Regions from separate parts of the Homo sapiens genome. Here regions 2, 3 and 4 are each linked to region 1. Evidence: promoter capture Hi-C in 16 types of primary human blood cells and fetal thymus (Javierre and others, 2016). All regions are on one chromosome and are shown on one strand. Each heading gives the region's core, a stretch centred on a gene start or on the middle of the fragment in contact. The rest is flanking DNA. Distances are from core to core; before and after follow the strand shown.

The links. The method cuts DNA at HindIII sites, captures the fragments that hold promoters and counts their contacts. A CHiCAGO score of 5 or more calls a contact.
Region 2: a contact is called between a fragment that was not itself captured here and the fragment with the promoter of IFNE in region 1, in 4 of 17 cell types (naive CD8 T cells, endothelial precursors, naive CD4 T cells and 1 more). The highest score is 7.7, in naive CD8 T cells.
Region 3: a contact is called between a fragment that was not itself captured here and the fragment with the promoter of IFNE in region 1, in 1 of 17 cell types (non-activated CD4 T cells). The highest score is 5.4, in non-activated CD4 T cells.
Region 4: a fragment that was not itself captured here is called in contact with the fragment with the promoter of IFNE in region 1 in 2 of 17 cell types (naive B cells and total B cells); the score reaches 6.7 in naive B cells.

The regions. Positions count from the first base shown.
Region 1 is chr9:21,480,072-21,485,832 of GRCh38, forward strand. It overlaps IFNE (interferon epsilon), which reads right to left and starts at 2,242. Exons shown (of 1, transcript NM_176891.5): 1 at 768-2,242. The coding sequence starts at 1,623. The coding sequence ends at 997. The region is part of intron 1 of MIR31HG (MIR31 host gene); the gene reads right to left. The HindIII fragment of the contact is 2,296 bases long and covers 1,989-4,284 here.
Region 2 is chr9:21,734,092-21,739,852 of GRCh38, forward strand. The region is part of intron 1 of LOC107987026 (a long non-coding RNA gene); the gene reads right to left. Among named protein-coding and RNA genes, the nearest start is that of MTAP, 66 kb to the right of the region's middle. The HindIII fragment of the contact is 1,037 bases long and covers 2,010-3,046 here.
Region 3 is chr9:21,682,090-21,687,850 of GRCh38, forward strand. No RefSeq gene overlaps it. Among named protein-coding and RNA genes, the nearest start is that of MTAP, 120 kb to the right of the region's middle. RefSeq lists an enhancer at 2,396-3,595. The HindIII fragment of the contact is 2,215 bases long and covers 2,171-4,385 here.
Region 4 is chr9:21,317,969-21,323,729 of GRCh38, forward strand. All of the region lies in intron 2 of LOC107987053 (a long non-coding RNA gene), which reads left to right. It also overlaps the pseudogene IFNA20P. Among named protein-coding and RNA genes, the nearest start is that of KLHL9, 15 kb to the right of the region's middle. The HindIII fragment of the contact is 168 bases long and covers 2,153-2,320 here.

The DNA of each region.
Region 1 (5,761 bases), core at 992-3,491:
TTTCACACGTGGGCAAGTTTTTGTTGTTGTGGTTGTTGTTGTTTTGTTTTGTTTTGAGATAGAGTCTCACTCTGTTGCCCAGGCTGGAGTGCAGTGGCATGATCTCGGCTCACTGCAACCTCCACCTCCCAGGTTCAGGTGATTCTCTTGCCTCAGCCTTCCGAGTAGCTGGGACTACAGGTGCCCGCCACCATGCCCGGCTAATTTTTGTATTTTTAGTAGAGACAGGGTTTCACCATATTGGCCAGGCTGGTCTCGAACTCCTGACCTTGTGATCCACCCTCCTCAGCCTCCCAAAGTGCTAGGATTACAGGCCTGAGCCACCACGCCCAGCTGTGGGCAAGTATTTTTATAGGACACATTTCCAGGCCTAGAATTTATAGATGAAAGGCTACATGCATCTGTAATAGATATCACCTAATTGCCTCCATAGTGGTTGTACTATAAATGGCATGCATGCTATTTAATTTGTATTTCTATTATCATGAGTGAGATTGAACCTCTTTTAATGTAGTTTTTTTTCTCTGCAAACTGTTCATGTCCTTTCACCATATTTCTATTGTGTCTCCTGTAATGTAAATATTCACTGTGTAATAATATTTTCAAATCTTAAAATGCAAATTATTCCCAATATTTCTCATTGTCTCTAGCAATTTCTGGCAAATAAGCAAATCATTGCAATGGAGTTCTATGTTAAGGAAAGTATTTTTACATTAGTGGCATATTTTATTGTATCTACCCAGCCAGCCTGTATGAAAATACACCCATTTGAAGAATCAACCATATTAATGAATTTATTTTGACATACAAACAATTTAAAATGGATAGAATATATAAAGCCACATTACAAAATAAAAACAATTGTGGTCAATATGCACAATCTTAAAACACAGATAAATATATATATACACAAAATCAAAGCAATGTGATTGTACTATAAATTGTATTACCACTCTATGAAGAATCATGTCTGGAGAAGTCCTCTAGTCCCTCCACCTACCTCGGGCTTCTAAACTCTGTAGTAAGCTCTTGCTTCATGTCGTTCAAGGGTCTTCCTTGTTTGCTCAGTTTTTCTGTGAGACTGAACACAAAGAACAGACATCGGCTGATTTCTACTTGGACAATGGCCCAGGCACAGGTGCTGTAGTCCTGGTTTTCCAGGTAATCATGGATCCTTCGGAAGTACATTTTAACTTGTAATCTAAGGTTATCACTACCCAAAGTACCACTTAGCTTCTCTGCTTCCAGTCCCATGAGTGCTTCTAGGTATTCTAGCTGTTGATGAAGTTGAATGAGGAATTTCTCCGTGTGGTTTTCCTCCCAACCATCCAGAGAAATATTTGCCCTGAAGAGGCTGAAGATCTGCTGAAGCATCTCATGGAGAATGGCCAGAGTGTGTCCTTTTTGGTACTGCTGAGGACTCAAAGACTTCTGAGGAAGCAGAAAGTTTTTCCTGTGTGGTAGACACTGCTGAATTGACAAGGTTTGCAACTTATTCAAGAGTTTTAAACTTTCTTGATTCACTTGTCTTTGCTGGAAGATAATCAGTTTCAAATCTAGAGAGAAGATAGTGGTAGAGGCCAGCAGCACCAACACAGTTCCAAAGAAGTGCTTGATAATCATGGTGAAGGTCAAATATGCTACTTATCCCTGCATAGACTTAGGGAAATTCCAGCTCTAGTGAATGTTTGCCTTTCATGCATCTCAGATTATTTTGGAGAGTGTTCTCTTTTGTTGCTTTCGTTTTCTAATGTCATTTCTCCAAGTTTACACATTAGATTTTCAGGTTCCCTTTTCATGGTGTTCAGAGTACATTTTCTCCATTTCCCTATTGTGTTGGCTATTTTGAGGAAGTACCAAAATAACTTATTCATTGTATGCTTTCCTTGAGGCAATTACAGACTAGTCATCCAACATAATCTTTTATTATTCTATTCATTATATACAAAGTTTCACTGAACACAATGTGCTTTCTAAATATTTAGTCAAGCTTATTAAAGTTCTTTTATTGAGATTACGTTTTTTTCAGTAATAGTCTTTCATGGAGTAAAACTTACCAAAGGCTTATCAGCACCTATAAAGAATTCAGGGGCAAAACTTAAAATACCTACAAACTACTAAATTTAAAACCTCAATTAGAACTGTAAATTGTCACAAATGCTTGAGCAAATAATTAATTTTAAAACATATATCAGCAATCTTAAATTATTTTATATCTTATCCTATCAGTTTAATATCTAAGATTCTAGCCTATAGAAGCAATGCAAAAAAATTAGCAAAAGAAGAGTGTTATAATATTATTGCAAAGCAGAATATTAGAAACAACCTATAGGTTCAACGACAGGTGAATGATTACATATATGTTGGTACAGCCATATAATTAAATGATATATATCCATTATAGATGACAAAATTATATGTGAAGAGAGATTGGGGGCATTTGGTTAGCGTATATTCCCTAGAATAGTGATAGCTCTGGTAAACTAATGTGAACATCTCTACATTAACAATGTCCTTTGAATTACAAATACCCAGTTCCATATTCTAAGTTCCTCTTGAATAAGCCCCCAATATACCTTTCCAATCTTATCCCACTGTTGCTCTAAATATAGTGTGAAGGAATCTGAACTCCAGATAAAGTAAGTGATTTAGTATTCCCTTAATACAGCTAGCACTTGTGTGTGTGTGTGTTTATTGATGATGCTTTCTCTGAAACATCAACTGTTGCCTCCTTTACCTCAAGAACCTTTCTGTGCAAGGACTAAAGACTACTTGTCCTTTAAGGCCCAGATCTCCCCCAAGGAGCCATAATCTTCTGGATCCCCACAACACTTTGTACCTACCTTATTTAAGACACCTTTCTTGTTCTGTCTTATACTTGACTATGTACTTACATGATTAAAAGTCTCTTCAGAGTGTGAAATAAACACTGATTACTGATTTCTTTGCTGTCTATACAACTATAGTAGTTGCTTAATAAATATGTGTTGACTTGGAATAAATTAATATGTTCTACACAAAGTAATACAAGATGTTGAGTCTTATCTTTAATCATTTCTCTGCAGGCAGCTGGGTGAATCCCTAAATGTCAAAAACAGGCACTCTGTAAACATGTATGGTCTCATTATATACCAGCTCAGCTGTATGTTTGGTCACTTAGTCTAGTATTAATAAGTTGAAATAAACTCAGTCAGCATGCTCCACAGAGGGTCTTTTCCCTCCCTATCTGAGAGAGAGAGAGAGAGAGAGAGAGAGAGAGAAAGAGAAAGAGAGAGAAAAGACATATGATAATATATAATATACGAAAGGAATAACACTTGTTTCATAACATTATGCTCAATCTATCTGGAAAGTAGAATTTTGACTAGTCTCAAAAAATCTTTAAATATTTAATGCTGAGCTTCGGGAAAACAATATAAAAATAAATTAAGAATATCAGAAGTTACTCCATCTAATAACAACGAGCTCTGATCTATAAGGCTTTCTCATCATTTTCATTCAATTGACAAAAATGATCTAAATGTTGTTTAATTTCCAAATGATCAGGGATTTTCCAGATGCCTTTCTGTTACTGATTTCATATTTGAATCTGTTGTGGTTAAAGAATGTAGTTTAAATTTATTGAGACTTATTTTATGGCTTAGAATATGGTTTATCTTGGTGACAGTTCCTTGTGAACTTGAAATAATAATGTTCTACTTTTGTTGGTTGGACTGTTTTATAAATGTCAAATAGGTTAAGCTGATTGAAAGTGTTTGAAATTTTCTGTATCCTTTCTGATGGTCTATTTGTTCTATCAACTATCAAGACAGAAGAGCTGAAATCCCTAGTATAATTTTAGATTTGCCTATCTCCCATTTCAGTTCTATCAGTTTTTGCCTTATATATTTTAGAACTTTAGTATTAGGTGCATCATATTTAGGATTATTATGTCGTCTTGATGAATTGACCCCTTTATTTTAAAATGTTCCTCTGTATCCTTTGCATTATTCCTTACTCCTAAATCAACTTTCTCTGATAATCATTTCTGTTTTTTTAATTAGTGTTAGCATAATATGTCTTTTATTGCATCTTTTAATTTAACTTATTCATGTTATTATATTAAAGTGAGTTTCTTGTACAGAGCGTATAGTTGGACCTTGTATTTTATTCTGTCTGACAATCTTTGCTTTATTAGAGTGTTTAGGTCATTAAATTTAATGTAATTGTCAGTATGGCTCAGTTTATATCTACCACTTTATTGTTTGTTTTCTAACTGCCCATATGTTCTTTTTCTCACTTTTAAGCTTTTCCTTCCTTCTTTTGGATTGAATTTTTGTTGTTGTTTTCTATTGCCCATTTTATCTCCATTATTGGCTTGTTAGTAATACCACTTTGTTTTACTTTTTGTTTTCATAGCAGTTTCTCTAGGATTAAAAATATACATCTTTATTTAACATATTACAGTTTACCTTCAAATAATATTACAATCCACTTAAGGTACAGTGTAGGGATATTATAACAGTATCCTTATATTTCCTCTCTCTCATTCTTTACACTACTTTCACTAATATTTCTTATATTACACGTCCCCTGGAAATAAACTCTCTTGGCTTTTGTCTGTCTGAAAAAGTATTGTGTCTTCTTTTTGAAATATATTTTTGCTGGGTATAGAATTCTAAGTTGATATATTTTTTCTTTAAGAACTGTAAAGATGTTGCTCTACTCTATTCTGGCTTGCATAATTTCTGAAGAGAAGACTGTGGTCATTCTTAATTTTATTCCTCTGTGCATAATGTTTCTTCTTTTTCTCTGGCAGCTTTTAAGATTTACTATCACTATTTTCTAGAAATTTGATAATAATGTGCTTTGGTGTGATTTTCTTCTTGTCTCTTTTACAAGGTTTTTTTTGAGCTTTGTGAATCCATGATTTTATCATTTTCATCAAATTTGAAAAAGTTTCAGACTTTATTTCTTTTAACATTTTTCTATTACCATTCCCTCCTTCCTAATCTCTTCTGGGACTACATCTCTAGATGTGTTTGACTGTTTAATATTATCACACAGTTCCCTGAAGCTTTGCTCATTTACTTTTTAGTCTTTTCCTCTGTCTTATTTCTAATAGTTTCTAAGTCTGCCTTCAAGCTTATTGGTATTTCCTTTGGTAGTATCTTATCTACAGTTAATCCCATCCAGTATATTTATCACTTCAGATATTATACTTTCATTTGTAGAAGTTGAATTTGTTTCTTTTTCATATCTACATTTCTTTCCTCATCACATTCATCTTTTCCTCTACATTCTTGAGCATATGGAGTACATTTATAGTAGGTGTTTAATCTCCTTTTCTGATAATTCTATCATTTGTGTCATTTCTGAGTCTGGTCTTGTCAATTATATTTCTACTCTTTATGGGTCCTATTTTCCTATGTCTTTTGCATGTTTGGTAACTTTTGAGTGGATTCTGAGCATTGTAAATTTTACTTTAATGGGAGTTGGATTTGTTAAGTCCTTTACGTACAGTTGAACTTTGTTTTAGGGTATAGTTGAGTTACTTGGAATTGGATTCCTCTGACATTGGCTTTGTTAGCATGAGTGAAGCAGACTTTATAATTTAGGGCAATGCCTTTGTAACCAAGAATATAGTCTTTTGAGGACTCTACTTAATGCTCTCTGAATTTGGAGATTTTTGCCCTCTGGCTGCTGGAAACATGAAATATCCCCAGCCCTGTGTTAGCACTGGGGACAGCCTGTACTGCCTGCTCCTTTCTGGGTGTTCTTT
Region 2 (5,761 bases), core at 1,278-3,777, 250 kb after region 1:
ATTTACTAAATCTAGAAACTGGATCCTTTGCCAATGTGATATACTTTCTTTCGTTTTCTGTTTAAGGGTGAGGTTTTGACTGTGTCATTTAAGGGCCTATGAAGTCCTTGGAAATTTGGTCTTCTCTCCCTTTTACCAATGTACTTTCACTTGTAGGCAAGCTCTAAATGAATGGCATGAGGAAGAGCAGATGACTTGACTAGAAGGCAGATGATTTATTTTCCTTGAGTTTACCATCATTTTCAGACATTCTTAAGGAAAATGAATTATACATACGTTAGGATATTGGAATTCTCTTTGCTGACAAGGCCTATCCCAGGAATGATACAACTGTGAGTAAAGTTATTGTCTCTACATTGCTTCAAAGAAACATGTCAGGGTAGGACCAGGATGGTTAATTTACCAAGGGCTTGCTTCTCCAGTTCACAGATGTGTATATTCTTTGGAAGTAGTGGTTGCAGTTTTAAACACTACATCCCAGATGTGCAGACAAGATACAACTTCTTTATTTTCTCTGTAACCTATCATATTTTCCTTACGACCAGGGATGGGGACACTATACTTTAGTTCAACTTCATAAATATAGTCTGATTCAATAAATAGTCTATTTGGTAATTGTTTAATCTTTTTTAGGTGAAAGGCTCAGTCCTTCAGATTCCATCTACCCCTGCCCAGCTCCTCCCCAAGAAGACCTTTGGATGAATAGGAAAGATATGGGGTTTACATGACCTCATGATACCCTGGGCGAGCAGTGCTCTTGAAGTCACACTTTGTGTTGTCCTCTCTTTTCTCTGCTGATGCATGGCTGTTCTGGACTGCTCTCCCTTTCCAAATAGTCCCTCTCTCAGTCACATCTAACTATGACTGAGTGATTTAGCTTCACCATGGATCACACTGATACTGCAGACCCCTCTAAGACTGTGGCATGTTCTTCATTTCTATCTTGGCCTAGGCTACCCAACCCAGTCACTTGATGCCTTGCCTCAAAGCTCAGTGGTAACTCACTGCCCACAAATCAGATTCCTTCAGCATCTGCAAGGAACATGCAGTCATCCCTGACTTCTTCATCTGCCTTCCTTGCTACCTTCAGCCAATGAAGTGTGGCATTTTCCTTGGCCTTGAAGGAAGTAGGTGCCACCAAGGTAGAATTCTACAAAGCCAGTTTGGAGGATGGTGGAGTAGAAAGACTGCAAGAGCCTTGTATTCTGTCTTCTTGCTCTTTTTCTCTCTTCTCCTCCAACATCTCTAGAAATAGAGGGTGCAGATTTCTGGCTTTTCAATTTCCCTACACCAGTGCTACCCAGACTAGTGCCAGGCCATGGACTGTCACTGGCCCACAATAAGATACACACAAAAATCAAGAGTAAATTTCTAGATACAATTTAACAGGGTAATTTCATATCTACCAAATGTAATTTAAAATGTTAGGCTTTTATTTTATGTGTCTTTGTTTTTCTATTTCATTTTTCTCATAACTCACTTTTATTGTATTTTTTAAATGATAGTGTGGGAGCCCAGGGAAAACTTCCTCTTCAACCTCTAAAGAAGCAGTCCCCAACTTTTCTGGCACCAGGGACCAGTTTCATGAAAGCCAATGTTTCCACAAAGGGGGGCTGGGGGTTGGTTTCAGGATGAAACTGTTCCAGCTCAGATCATCAGGCATTAGATTCTCGTAAGGAGTGTAACCTAGATTCCTCACATGTGCAGTTCACAATAGGGTTCGTGCTCCTATGAGAATCTGATGTCATCACTGATCTGACAGGAGGCAGAGCTCAGGCGTTAATGCTCGCTAGCCCGCTGCTCACCTCCTGCTGTGCAGCCCGGTTCCTAACAGGCCATGAAGTAGTACCCGTCTGTGGCCCAGGGGTTGGGGCCCCTGCTGTAAAGTTTTGCTTAAAAAAATCAACTGACAAAAGGCAGATTAATCGGTGAAAAGGCATACAGATTTATTAACATGTACACGGAGAGAACCACAGAGTGACTCCTACAACCCCTCAATGGGATGCAAAAGCTTATTTACCATCTTGAGGTTACAGAAAGAATGAAGGCTCAGAGCATGGCCAAAAAGGTTATGGTGGTAAATCAGGATTTACTGGCAAGACAGGTAAGAGGGAGAGGAGAGACTTGGCTGGCAAAGATGGTCATGTTACCTAGGTGAAACCTCACAGGTAATATCCCTCCAAAAGAATAAATGGTAAATATTTCTTTCAGACCTTTAAAGGTGTCAGGCTCCCATTAATCTTTCCTAGATCCAGTCAAGGGAAGGTTTCAGAGAAAGCCTGGATGCATCAATGTAAATTTTCTCTTTAGATGCAAATCTCCACAAAAGAGCTTTGCAAGGCTACTTCCGTTTGCAGGCCCTCTGAACAGCCGTCTCAAAATATGTGAAAGAAGTGTCTATGGGAGTGAAATATTTTTACTTCTTTCAATAGAACAAGATGTGTTAGAAACTTTTTAAAAGTGGTTTCTCCCACAGATAGTTTGAGAGGCACTGCTCCTCATTGCATCTGCTCTCTATTCAGCAAGCCTAAGGAAGAGGATCATTGATGGAAGGGACATCCTCTCTGTCCTGCTCTCTGCACCACAGAAGAAACATAAGGAGTTCACCAGACTTGAGTCTGGGTATGCTACAAAAATGTGACTTCTTTTCCTGACAAAGCCTGGATTTTGAACTTATTTTCAAGTTGTAGATGCAAGCTAAAATCTAATTTGACAGTCAAAGCTGGACAAGGACTCCCCTGTGTTCTGGTGGGGACTATGTTCTGACACCTTTTCCCTGAAGCACGGAAACCCATTGTTTCAATGAGTGGGAAGTCCTAAAGCAATGTGATCTACAGGATAAGAAGACACACCAAAAAAAATATCCTGAAGTTGCTGATGTAAGAAGGATGGTTGGAGAACAGCTCTATTTCAAGAACATCTGAATATGATGTTTTTCATAATCTTAAAAAAACCTGTATCGGTAATCAATACAATACATTCCAAGTGACCCTATTTTTTTGCAAAAGAAGAAGAAAATCTCTAGAAAACCATTTGCATTCATATAAGCTTTACAATGCCTGAAACAAATGTTTAGGCCTCAGTCTTTTCCAGTTCAAAGACCAATGAAAATAATTTGTAGACCACACTTGAACAACCACAAATTGAGTGCTGTTCCTAAAGGAAGCTTTCGCAGCTGGGATGCCTGAAACAATTCTGGCATTAAGTGGGTGAATATTATTATTAATAATATTTAATTAAGTTTCTACCTGAGCACCCTGCTGAAAGACTCTCTAAAAACTAGTCTAACATCATTAATCTAACAAAATAAGGGCCAAATTAGGAAACAGAAGAAGGCTACAGTTTTATCATTGTACTGACCTATCTTAGAGGTAACGTTGACTCTCCTTAGAGATAGTTTCCAAAATACTATTACTCAGTTGAAGAAAAGTTAGACCATGCTCAAGAATAATTGTTTTGAGATTGTCTTATGCCCCACAACCTCCCTGCAAGTGCCATTTTGCTATGTTCCTTAAAACCACCTCTTTTTCAAGGATTCAATTCCCTTAAGTCTGCCTGCCAGCCTTTGTCTCAACTCAACTCAAAATGGCAAGGATATGACTTGGTTTATCTACCCAAGTTGATGGATAACCAATTAGACTTTAGTGTGACTGTATATGCTTCTATACACACTCTATATACTTCTCAAGAAGTATTTGTAGTGTTTGCCTTTGATCTATAATTGTAGCTTGAAAGCTCTTTTTTTCCTATTCAGTAGACTTCAGATAACTGCAAGCCATAGGCAGTCTCTCTCATTTGAAAAGAGAAAATCTTTTCTTCAAGGACAATATCTGGTCTCCCCAACCCAGATGGTCCCTGCTTCCTGAGCAGACCTATTTTGTTTGTTGTTGTTTTGAGACAGGGTCTCTCTCTGTTGACGAGGCTAGAGTGCGGTGGTGTGATCATGGCTCACTGCTGTGTTGACCTCCCAGGCTTAAGCAATCCTCCCACCTCAGCCTCCTGAGTAGCGGGGACCACAGGCATGTACCATCACACTTGGAAATTATTTTTATTTTTATTAGAGACAGGGTCTCCCCATGTGGCCCAAGCTGATCTCTAACTCCTGAGCTCAAGTGATCCTCCTGCCTTGGCTTCCCAAAGAGCTGGGATTACAGATGTGAGCCACCATGCCTAGCTTCTATTAATAATGTCAGTAAGAAGGTATTGCCCTTCTCCACCAGCTCCTAAAATTAGGTAGGGCTGTGGCCTTCTTGCCTTTGAAGATGACATTCCCAATCACAGTTAATATATTAAAATATATTCACATAGATTAAATATAGTATATGTAATTATATTGACTAAATTCTCCTACACTTGATGCTTTGATATATTGTCAAATTTTGTAGACATTTGTTTCATTTGGTAGCTTTATTTATTTTACTTATTTTAATGTATTTATTTATTTCAGTGTGGTAGTTTTCTTATTTTGATGCCAATTTGTTTTTAGCTGTCTAATATTTTTATTAGTTGTCTTGGGTCAGGTTTCCTAGAAGCAAAACCTGACATGAAGATTCATGAACAAGTGGTTTATTACAGAAGGATTCCTAGGAGAAAATGATAAGGATTTGAAAGAAGTAGTGGGGAAGTCAGGGCAAGACTGGGAAGGGGAAGAACCCAAGCAAGGCTGTAATTGCAGATAAAGTTGCAATCTCAGCCTAATCCTATGGGGAGCTCTAGAGTATAAATCACATGGCAAGCTTTGTCCCACTTGTTGAGGCAAATAAGTCAGGCTTTTGTACCCTTCCATCAGTCAATCACCAGCTGTCAGTCAGTGGATAGGAATATTCTCAGGCACTTCCCTCAGTGATGAGACAGTTTATATATCCAAAGACAGTCCTCTGCAGAGGCAAGGGAGCCTTTAGCAAAAGAGAATACGGACGCTGAGGGGACAGGGCATAGTGCTGGGGAAAGGAATTGGAGAGGGAAGCACCTGGGCAGGACAGAGTGTTCACTACAGCAGTCATTGAAAAGATCATAAGCACCATGCCTGGAGCACCGAAAAGATGAAATAAGCCTTGAAATCCAGATGGTTTCTGGCATATCACAGGTCTGCTAGACTTTTCTTTTCTCTCCTCTAACCCAATGCTATCTTTTACTCCCCCTTTTCATCCTTTGCCAAAGACTTTCTGAAAATTGTTTGTAATATCTGGTACACCTAAAGAATCTGTTAGGTCCTCAGTATTAAACAGAAGAGATAAGTGTTTTCACATCCTATCTGATAAAATGAAGGACACAAATTTAAAAATGATTGTCTATTTTTAATGTTATAATTTCATATTTACCTCTCTCATTCTTGGATTTGTTCTTACTCAATAATAGCTTCCAACATTGTAACCTGGAGTTGTTCTCACTCTCTTACTAAATGATTTGAATCCAATTCCAAGAATAATGCTGCCACCCTATTTATAATACACTTGCACCTCCAATTGATTCCTTTCACAGTGCAATCCTCAGGTACAGATGTAAAGTTTTCTACTTCATAATGTAAAAGAATGTAAGAGACTATCTCATGACAGGAAGAAGACTCTACAGAAAAACCTTTTTTTGAAACCCCATAGCCCAGACAGTAGCACGTTATTTTTGGTGAAGAATTATCTGAAAATATAAATGGTATCTTAATCAGTGTTCAATGGAGAACCAAGAAGGGAAAGAGGAAGGAGTAAACTTTGAGGAGAGTCTCTTTTCACTGATTTTGTTTAGGATTGCAAGTACCTAGTGTTTA
Region 3 (5,761 bases), core at 2,028-4,527, 200 kb after region 1:
TCCACTACTCAGAGACAAAGAATAGACTGAATTAATGAGTATTCGTATAAGCAATTTCCTAAGCCTTATAGATTTAGAATATGTGTAAATGCATCCAGCTAGCAATATTAGGATATTTTTAGCTTCATTTTTTTAGTAATATATTAAGAGCAAACTCCAGCTTTCCTTCTTGTTCCTTCTTGTGTCCTAATCCTTAAGATCAATAAAACGAAAGTTGTTCAGTCAAATAAAAATATTTAGTGTGTACATGCACAGAGGCACACACACACATACATACACACATGAACACAGGTACACATAAACACCACCAAACAAAATTTATGTTAGAATTGCTTCAATTAAAGAATAAATCAATCCAAGAAGCGTATGAGAAACATTATCTCAGCTATGCCCTAAGCTAATTCCTTTTTTGTCCTCTTGTCTTATATTCTAACAAAGGAAAGTCACTCTATTTGGCCTAGTCTACAGTGTTTCTCAGGCTCTAAGTGCCTTTTCTCCAAATAACCATAGTAACTCTATATTTGTTGTTTTACTAAGCATTTTTCCACCCATTTTCTGTATTAAATATAACAGCCTTATGGGATAGGAACACCTAAAGAAGAACCGGACAGTTTCTCTGAGCATTTCCTTTTGCTAGAAAAGTTTAGAATAATAAGAAAGCAACACTAATAACAGCTGCCATTTATTAAACACTTATTACTACTGAGGAGTTTTTAAGCACAAAAATATTTCTTATTCCTCACAACATTGAAAAGAGATATTACTTTATTTTATAGATCAGTAAGATGCTCTGAGGTTGACATTCTCAGGGTTATACACACAGTAGTGGCAGAATTGGGGACTGAACCTAAATTGATATTTTCGTGAAACCAGAAGGACTTTCTTCTATTTCACCCCACTCCCTTACTAATGGTTCTCACTTAATGTTTGTTGAGTGAAACCTAATACTCAGACATGCTCTTTTCAAATGAGCTCAATAGCAGATGTCTGTTCAAATCCCTTAGGTAATTAGAAGTAGAAATGGTTGGAAATTTCCCAATTGACTATGAGTAATAGTGAGGCCATCTGGGTAATATATAAACCCATTCACACCAATTCTTCTCCAAATGCCCCAGAAGCATTATTACTTAGCAGAGCAGGCCAAAGAAGGTTAACCGGCTGCTTTAAAGGAAAGGTGGGGAAAGAGGAGCTTTGCTCTAACATGGTCAGGTCATTCTACTGCCAGTACCATCCTGGAAGGGTCTGGTTTCAACAGGTGTCAGTCCAGGGACTATTACAAAGAAGGAAACGGAAAAATAGGGCAGCACACACTTTTTAAAAAGTCTTTCCTTATTTATTCGTAAGTTGAAAGGAGAGAGTGATGGCAGAATGTGAGTGTAGTATATTAAGATATGAAATACAACAGCTGAATGAGTAGAGTGTTTTCACTGTTCTGGTAAGAATGAAATACATGGGTATATTCAAACTAAATGCTCTTATATATGCATTTCAAACTGGTATTGCTCAATATAAAGATATATGATGAAATGATAAAATTCATGCCAATAATTTAAATTAAAATCTTCTTTATTTAGAACATTAAATAGCAAATAAAACACCATAAGAAGCTGAAGAGGGTCTGTCAAAGGAAGACCACCAATCTACCACCAGGAGTCGATTTCAGTTCCCCTAAATATCCAAGCATGAGGGAATGCTGGCAATGTGAACGTTCAATGGTAAAGTATCTGAGGATTTTGCAGATGCAGGTTGTCAAACTCATCATTAATGGAAGTAATCAAGAGCTCTAAGCATCCTTTTTCTTTTCCATAAGTTCCAGGGTGCATGTGCATACATTCTAAATGCTGGTCTGTTAAACCGATGTGCAAATTTTCAAGGACTATGCCAAAAGATAATAGCAGCAAGCCCACATTCAAATGCTGGAGAAAAGGAATGGGCTCATGACAATGAGCAAGTTAGATAATGCTTACAAATCACACTCGGGAGGCATTTTCTTCATGTTCACAGAATCTGTAAAATCCCTTTGCAGCAGAGTATGGCATGTTTTATTTTTTTCTTTTTCCAAGTTAGGTAACAAGTTTAGAATATATCTAAAATTTATTGGATACTAATTGTGTCCTAGGGTCTCTGTTTAGAACATTTATTTGCACTGTCTTATTTAATCCTTACAACAAGCTTATGAGGAAAATTTCATTATTACTCTATGTATTACATGAGGAAGCTGAAGATTAAGGAAGTCAACCGTCAATAGCCATGTAGCTATTAAGTGGGCCTCTGAGATTCTAGAACAGATCAATCTGACTCCAGACTCCTTTACCACACACTGCATTATTTGATAAGAACGTAAGGGAGTTGCCCAGAGCATCTAATCTCAAACCTATCTCTATTAATTCCAAAGTCCTTTATTTTTCCATGCCCACATTCTCCTCTATATTGAATCTTGTAGTGGATTTTATTAAATGAAGTGTGGATTTTCCCTCTCTAAGAATGTCTACAGTGAAGTTATTTACCACAAGATGGTTTTCATCCAGACAGAGGTATATCTAACACGAATAAATATTTTCTGAGCATTTACCATCTGCCCCACACTACAGTAACACTGTCGAGTTCACTGAAATGAACCTGATGGCTTCTGTGATTCCAGGCAGCAACATGTTTCTCTAAATCCAATGAAAATAGGAACTTATAACATCTTCAGCTTACATATTTACTGTTAACACGAAGGGGGAAATAAAATGATTTCATTTCCCTTTCGCTGTTTGAGGAGCAGTAAAGCCCAGCTTCTTGACTTTGAGTCATACACCTTGAATGGTAGGTTGGGCAAACTGGTGGTCACCTTCAGGTCCCAACCTGTAGAGCAACCCACCTTGGAAAGCCTCATCATTCAGGGAGGTAAGTGTGCCAGGCTCCACAAACCTGGACTTGCTGGTGAAAAGTCTCTCCAGCCAAGAACAGCACAGCCAGGAAAGGGTAGTGGGAGGTAGAAAGCAAGCTCAGAGCTGGCAAGTGGACAGAATGAGTCACCTCTTTGATGTGGAGTGGTTATTCCAAACACAGCAAAGGTGAGCAAGCATTTCCTTCCTCTGACTACCCTAACTACAGCGGCAACAGCCCCTTAATGTAGGAAACTGAGTCACAGGCTAGGAAGGTTTCAGAGATGCAGGAGGAAAATTGCTAGACTATACTGTAATACCAATCTTACTAAGATAAATTTAGTGTCAGCCTGGTAAAATATCATTCTGCCTTATTTGCATAAACTAATTTTCCCTTGTTTCCACAACCTTTCCTCATTGCTCCCTATTCTTAGTAGGGATGCCAGTTAAGAAATGTACACATAGAGCAAGACCTTTCAGCAGAATTAACTCTTTAAAGGAATCAGTGAATGTGAGTGAAAAGAAGACTGGGATTGTCTTATTAAGAGAATGAAAACGCCGTAAAAAAAAAAAGGTTGTTAAACCCACTGGTGGTTCTGGGAGTGGCTGGTTCTTTCATAAGAACAGTTTGGTATACTGGGTCATGCTAGAATTCGCCTGCCTCAGCCTAAATGGATTGAGTCCATTTGCAGAAAACAGAGGAAAAGTACGCTGTTTCCACTGGTTTCAACTTGGAGCAGGATTGTCTGTTGGTGTCTCAGCATGGGGCCTTCTTCACTCTCCCTGGAAGCAAGGCCCAGAAACATAAAGGCTATGTTTTCTAGACTCCTTGTAAGTAGTGCTCTGATTTAGGGTCTTCTAACGAGAGACACTTGCACGAGAAGGTGGAAGAGAAGGCACTGTTATTGCTCTGGAGTTAGTGAGCAGGTACAGGGTCACTGGCAGATAGCAGATCTGAGGTTTTGCCAGTGACTTTTGGGGGTCTGCCTGAAAATCACCTACTTAGGTGCTTCAGACAACTGAGACAGGTGATGAAGGTCCCCTGCAACTCCTGCCTTACCTGATTTCCTGAATACTTGTGGCAGTTTCCCTGATTTTCTTGTCTTACAATGTTTTGTAAACCCTAAATTAAATTTCCTGATTGAATAGCTAAAGAGGTTTCTGTTTTAGACTAAACCCTACTTGTCACATACTTCGAAGGGGCAAAGAATATATCCAAATAATTCACCTTTCATAAATTATTAAGAATCTATTTTTATGTAAGAATTCATCTTTTTCAAACGTTTATATTTTCATTATGTACCAATTCTTGTGGCAATGACTTACAAAATTTACTATGGAGTCATGAAATGTATTTCATGCTTCTCATGACATCTGTTGTATATTAACATATGTTCATCTATCCTATGTCCTTGAAGAGTGCTATATGTTTGGTCTGTTCTTATGTCAGAGAACACAAAAATACACACACCCACAACCTGAATTTTAGTTTGTAAATTTAGTGGCTTTGTCTGAAGCTTTTCTGAGCAAAGAGTAGAAGGAGAGAGAGAAATGACCTGAATTCTTAAGAATAGCATCCAAAATTTTGACTCATATAGGCCAGAGTAAAGGGGAAAGGTGAGTCTTTCAGAGAAAACATAATCTTCGTGAATTAACTTTTTTCCTTCACAAAGATCAGGCTTAATCTTTGCTCCCTCTTGCCTCTCTCATATTTATTTTCATTTCCCAATCAGCAAAGGAAATATGCTTAATTTTAGACTTAACCTGAAGCTCAACATTGTGGGTAAGGGGACTTGTTCTGAGCAGTTTAAATTCTAAGGCCTCATGATTATTGAATAAACACTGAATGAAAATAGAGCGACTAAAATATCATGAGATTAATAAGTTTGACATGATTGTGTACGCTTTAGTTTGCTTATGTAGGACATTATAACTGAAAGAAATGCTCTGCAATTTTGTGGATGATGTCATTTGATTATTTGACTTTCCTAGAAAGGAATAATTTAGATGTTCACTGCCCAAACTATATCATCTCTCTTTCCTTCAGGGTGTGCTATAAGATTTTCAGTGTAAATAAGATGTCAAAAATTGGAAGCCCAAACCACAGAACAAAGATGGCTTGCAGATTCATCTATGTATTCAGTCCTTCATTTAAAAAATCATTAATGAAGTTTCTACTATATGCCAGCCTCTGTTCTAGGCACTGGGGACATAGCCATGAGCAAAATAAACTAAAATCTCTGTCTTCGAGTAGTTTACATTCTATTGTTGGAAGAGATAGAAAACAAATCCAATAAATAAAATTCATAATATTAGAGGAAGACAAGTGTTTTTGAACAAAATCAAGTTGGGAGGAAGTGTGGGGAGAGGATACGATTTCAAATAGGGTGGTCAAGGAAGGTCTCACTGAGGTGAAGACATTTAATAAAAGACATGAAGGAGATGAAGGAATGAGCTATGTGGCTATGTAGGGAAAGGGTGCTCCTGATGAGGAAAGTGCTGGTGCAGTGGCCTTGAGACAGGAGAGTGCACTGCACAGCTCAGGAACAGCTGGGTCAATGTGGTGGTGACAGAGGGAGTGAGAGATTGGTAGGAGGCTTGTAGGAAGGAGGTTAGAGAAGTAGCAAACACCTGTTTGTAGCCATTATGAAGACTTGGGAAATGTGTTCTGCTAATCCAAACACAGTTTAAAAGTAATGTATTTTATAACATCTGATTTCTGATACCCCTAAGATTTGGCATTACTACATTGTACATTACCACATTATGACAACAAAGCTGAGCAGTAGTTGCCCCTTGATATGGTTTCAGGGCTTTCCAGTACTTCTTTTTTTTTTTTTTAAGACAAGATCACACTCTGTCACTCAGACTGGAGTGCAATGGCACAATCT
Region 4 (5,761 bases), core at 987-3,486, 160 kb before region 1:
AAAATTAGCAACTTACTGTTAAGAAAGAGCTAATGTACCTTAACCAGGAGATTTTTCTTGATTTCCCTTGTAGTTCTACACCTACATTGGCAGGTTGTACTGATTCCCAGTCTAGCACAAAACATAGAGGGAGGGACAAGTCAAGAGGCTGGAGGCAAGGGACACGTTCTGACCCTTTCTCTCTCCACATAGCTGCCCATTGTTCAAAGAACATGTGCTTCCTGAATCTGGGAGTGTTTTCTCTCTCTGTGATACAAAAGCTAAGAAAATGGGCTTCTTCCAATATTAGGGTTAATTCTTTCCGAGAAAGATGGCCTTTTACAAATGAACGAAAATCTCCTTCAAGGGAACAGAATTCTTTTTCTTATTTTTTATTTTTTTATTTTTATTTTCTTATTATCATACTTTAAGTTTTAGGGTACATGTGCACAACGTGCAGGTTTGTTACATATTCTTTACAGAACAGAAAAGCCTGCCCTCCATAGACTTGGTGCACGTCTTTGCCAGTAGGTGGCTCTCATCCTCTGTAAATATTTCAACGGCCTCCAGAGTAAAATGGATCTTGCATTCTATTTCCTTTTTCCACAGGGATGGTTACATTATTGTAATGGGGATATTCCTTCTTTTCCAAAACTATTCACCAGGAGGGAAGTAAAAAAAAAAAAAAAAAAAAAAACAGGCCAGTGATTTGGATGTTTCTGAAACACCTAGAACTCTCACTCAACTTTTGCTTTCAGCTGATGGCTTTGTACTCTTATGGGAAAATTGACAGCCAGAAATTACAATGGAACAGGAAGCAGCTGTATGAATGGCAGTGCAGGTTAATGGTGAGTGAATGAGGAGAGCACCCTGGGATTTCTACGCTGGGGAGGGAGGAAACTAATGTCATACAGAAATGAAAGAATGGGATCCTCCAGTAAGTAGGGGGGAAGGGAGAGTGTGGCAGCCATCAGAATCAGCAAAGTATTGTGATTTTTCCATGGCTGAAAATCAAGGTAGTCCCATTTCCAATCCCCCTCCCTCCAGAAATATATATATGTATATATATGCTTGTATATACTTAAATTTTATGTAACATAAAATAAGTTTATATACTTATATTAATATACATTACATTTTTAGATTATGTATTTTGTAATTAATATGTGTAAATATAATTATGTATACTTAAGTATATACAGCTTTAAGTATTATATACTTTTACAATCTCATATAATTTAATATATGCTTATTATATTATACTTAACATATTAAAATATATTAAATTTGTATATTATTAAATATATAAGTATACATAATTTAAGCATATGTATTTAAATATACATAAAGAATATATAGGCCTGGCGTGGTGGCTCAGGTCTATAATGCCAGTACTTTGGAAGGCCAAGGCAGGAAGATTGCTTGAGGCCAGGATTTACCAGCCTGGTCAACAGAAGGAGACACCATCTCTACCAAAAAATAAAAAATTAGCCAGGTGTGGTAGTGCACACCTATAGTCTCAGCTATTTGGGAGGCCAAGGTGGGAGGATCACTTGGGCCCAGGAGTTCGAGGATGTAGTGAGGTATGACAGCAGCACTGCAGTCCAGCCTGAACAAAAGAGTGAGACTTTTGTCAAAAAAAAAAGAATATATATTTATATATCTTATATATGTTTTTGTACATTTAAAAATCCATATGTAAATATAATGTGTAAAAATATGTATACATTTATATATTTTAATATATATACTTCAATATATACTTTATATAGAATAACATATATACGATATGTTATATATACACATATACAATATAGCATATAACATATATTGTATGTTATTAAATACATTACAATATTTACTTATTTATTTGTATTTAAATATGTATATATAAATATGTAAGTGTATATTCTGTATATATCTATAGGTAACTTTATATAATACTATATTCAGTTAGTTTCAAATCACCTTTTTTTTTTTAGGGTTGAGTTAGAGAGTTGTAAAGGCTAGGAAAATGGTTTACAAAATATGTTTTACTTGGGCCTAAAAATAATCATCAATGGTGATTTGAAACTAACTGAATCTGAGTAAAGGGATTATTTTATTTATTTATACTATTCACAGAGCAGCCATTTTCTATCGCAACTTGCTGAGACACTGGTTCCCTGGAACAAGCTTCATGGGGGCTGTACAATTTTTCCTCTGTGCAAGGCACTACTCTGACAATGGGAACCTGGGCTCTGCTCCTTCACAGTTTTACAGACAGTCCCCTTTCCTAGAGTTTCAATTTGAGGGACATCAACGTGTTAGACCTCAGGAATGTCAGGGGAGCTGCAATCAAAGCTTCTCTTGTCTGGATTTGGTTAAATGTGGACTATACAGGATTATGTTATTTATTACATTGAAATTAAAGGTAACTATCATTTACCATGTTCAGATTCTCAGCCAGTAATTTGCAAACTTTATTTTATTTCATCTTTGCAGTTTCCTATGTGACAACTATTAAAATTGTCTCAATTTTGCAGAAGAGGAAAGGAAAATCTGATGTTGTTTAAGCTCCCAGGAGCCACAGATGTTGTCACAAAGTGGCAGTTTCTACTGCCTCCCAATTTCCCTCTTCATTAGCTTTCAGTTCTTCCTCTTGGCTGCACTGAGCATGCTAGTGTTTAATTAATCACAATCATGTCTTAAATGCCATTCTTTGAATCCATGGAGGGTAGTCATCATCCTGTATTACTTATCTGTTAATCTAAATTGCCAAGCCTATTGTCTGTCACATATATGCAGTAAAGACATTTTTAGTGACAGAACAAAGACAACTGGATGACTTAACCCTGGGTTTTCGAGTTTTATGCCACCGTTATCTACAGATTATAAGCTGTGGCTCTTGTAAAGAAAGGTGGAAGAAATCAAACCTAGTGTATTAGCCACTTAAAAGAGAAATGCAGAGAGGTGAGGAAACATGTATTTCAGTGCAGTTTAAGAAGTAAAAATGTCCAAGATCAAACCTCTAAGTATACTTATTAGAATTTTAAAAGAGACATAGATTGAGACTCAGATAGGTTGTTATTTCAACATTGAGCCTCATTTGGATGGGTATTTCCTATTAGATTGAGAGTTTTGCCATTTTCTGAGTGTGTTTAATTTCCATTGTCATAATACAAAAGAAGTGTTGAGGTCATGACATTATCTGAGACCCATAAATAGAAGAGAAAGTGAACAAAGTAGAAATAAAGTTGAGATAAGTACAAAAACTGAAAACCCTAATCTGGTTATGTAAGAATCTCACAACAAGAAAGTGCTGAGACAGGTGGGTAAAGACTCAAATGGCCTAGCCAGCTGTATCCCACCAATGACCCGGCCAACCTCTTCCCTAGTGACACTGAGGATGATATTCTGCAGTTCTCTCTGCAGCTTTAGCTGTGGCCTAGCCCAGAGCCATGGGCTGCCATAAATAGGTGACCTTCAAAGTTCTGCACCAAATTGGGAGAATCTTTCTTTTCTTCCTGTCTGAAGAACAAGAATGTTTTTTAAGTTTCCCCTAGAGCAGCCGCATGGCACCAAATTCCAAAAGGCTCAGGCCACCAATGTTCTTCATGAGATGATCCAGCAGATCTCCAACGTTTTCAGCACAAAGAACTGAAATTCCTCACTGGGCTTGATCAGTAGCTAGAATTTCTGGAGACCTGTTTGGGTATAGGAAATCAAAGAGACCTTGAGTAGGAGGACTCCAGCCTGGCTGTGAAGGAGTATTCACAAGCAATCAGTCTCTATGTGAGAAAGAAAGAACACATCTGTTGTGCCTGGGACATTGTCAGACTGCAGATTAAGAAAGGAAAATCAATAAATGCTTTCTCTGTGTTAATAGGCTCATCGGAAATCCCAGGAGGTTGGAAAGGAAACTTAGATTTAGACCCAGTATCAGTCAATTGGGTCTCATCTACTAATTATGTGGCTTCGAGCTTGTAAATATTCATTCAATTCAAAGACTTTCCTTTCTGCTTCATTTATCGATATATTGAGTCATTTTTGTAAGACTGTGTTTCAATAATAAGAAATTGTACTTTTTTGTTTGTTTGTCTTTGACAGAGTCTCACTCTGTCACCCAGGCTGGAGTGCAGTGGCAGAATCTCTGTTCACTGCAAACTCCGCCTCCCGGGTTCAAGCGATTCTCATGCCTCAGCCTCCCAAGTAGCTGGGATTACAGGCATGCACCACCATGCCCAGCTAATTTTTGTATTTTCAGTAGAGATGGATTTTTGCCATGTTGGCCAGGCTGGTCTCGAACTCCTGACCTCAAGTTATCCACTCACCTTAGCTTCCCAAATGCTGGGGTTGCAGGCATGAGTCACTGCACCTGGCAAAATTGTACTTTTGAATAGGGAGAAATTACATTTTTAGCTTGTAATAATTAAAATTTATCCAATGATAATTGCTATATTTTCAAAATTTATTGTTTATAAATATGGTCAGCTTTGCCTTCTGGTTTCTATTGTTTGGTGAGGATGGAGCGGGTACTTAAATCTTTACAGTAAAAGTCAGGTCTTACTCAAACCCTCAAAGAGATACAAAGTGCCCTTAAACCTTTAATCTGCTTTCAAATCCAAAAGGAACATTAAGTCTATTTATTCATAAATCGTTTTAAATATCTCTGCTCCAGGCAATTTACTTGTCACTGTGAAAATATTGGTAAGTTAAATAAAGACTTTATTTTCTTCAGTGGAGCACTCTTCCTGAGAAGACAGCTCTAAACAATAAGTAGGTAGGTAGGAATCCTAGGGCCATGAAGGAGATGAACAATTCACATAGATTATACCAGCTGAAGTGAATTCAGTTTTACTTATGTTTCTTAGATAAGTCATATCTGATGACCGTTGATTCAGTTTCAGCAGTTGCATGAACTAGAAACTAAAGTGAAATACGGAATCATCCACCTTGAAACTTCAAATAAGTAGCAAATACCTTTTATTTGCTGGCTCTGTGGATGGTGCTAGTTACAATGAAAGAAAGTAGACACATTCTCTGCTTTCAGGGAATGACAGAGCTTCCAGTCTGGTGGGATGTGGGCAAGTGAGCATTTAATTAAAGTAATGCTAATGACTGTGACAGGGAAAGTATCAGATTCTGGAAGCGTGTAGCACTTGTTTCCGTCAGGGAAAGCATCCAGGAGAAGTAACTGCTAAGCTGGCATCTCAAGGATCTGTGGGAGTTAACCAAGTAAATGTGTGATGCTCAAAGGGTCAGAAACAGGGAACAGCAGATGTGAATGCGTAGCGGCCAGAGGGCGCATGCAGGAGCAAACAGTGAAGAAGGTTTAGAACTATGTAGAAGTAGAAGGGAGGGAGGGAGAAAGCAGAAGTTAGAATAGGAAGCAGGTGTTGTATTGTAAAAGGCATTGCAAGCAATTATGGGATTATGAGTCACAGAAATGATCATTAGAAATATTGAGATGTTTTAAGCAGTGAATTGATGTCACCAAATACATATTAGAAAAGCTCTTACAGCTGCCCTTTGAAAACTAGGTTGGGATTTGCTTGCACATACTGGTTAGAAAGGTGGGAAGTGGACCCATTAGGACATAGTTATTGTACCCAACGAGATAGGTAATAGGTTTGGAAGGTATTTATTACGTTGTAGTAAAGAGTAAAGCTGAATGTAAGACTGATGACTAAACAGAGGTGTTAAGATGTGGTGCCTGCTGAATTTTTGGGATGCCATAGAAACAAGCTCTAGACTAAGCCTCCAGATAAAAATATCAAAAATTAAACCAGAGAACTGTCCA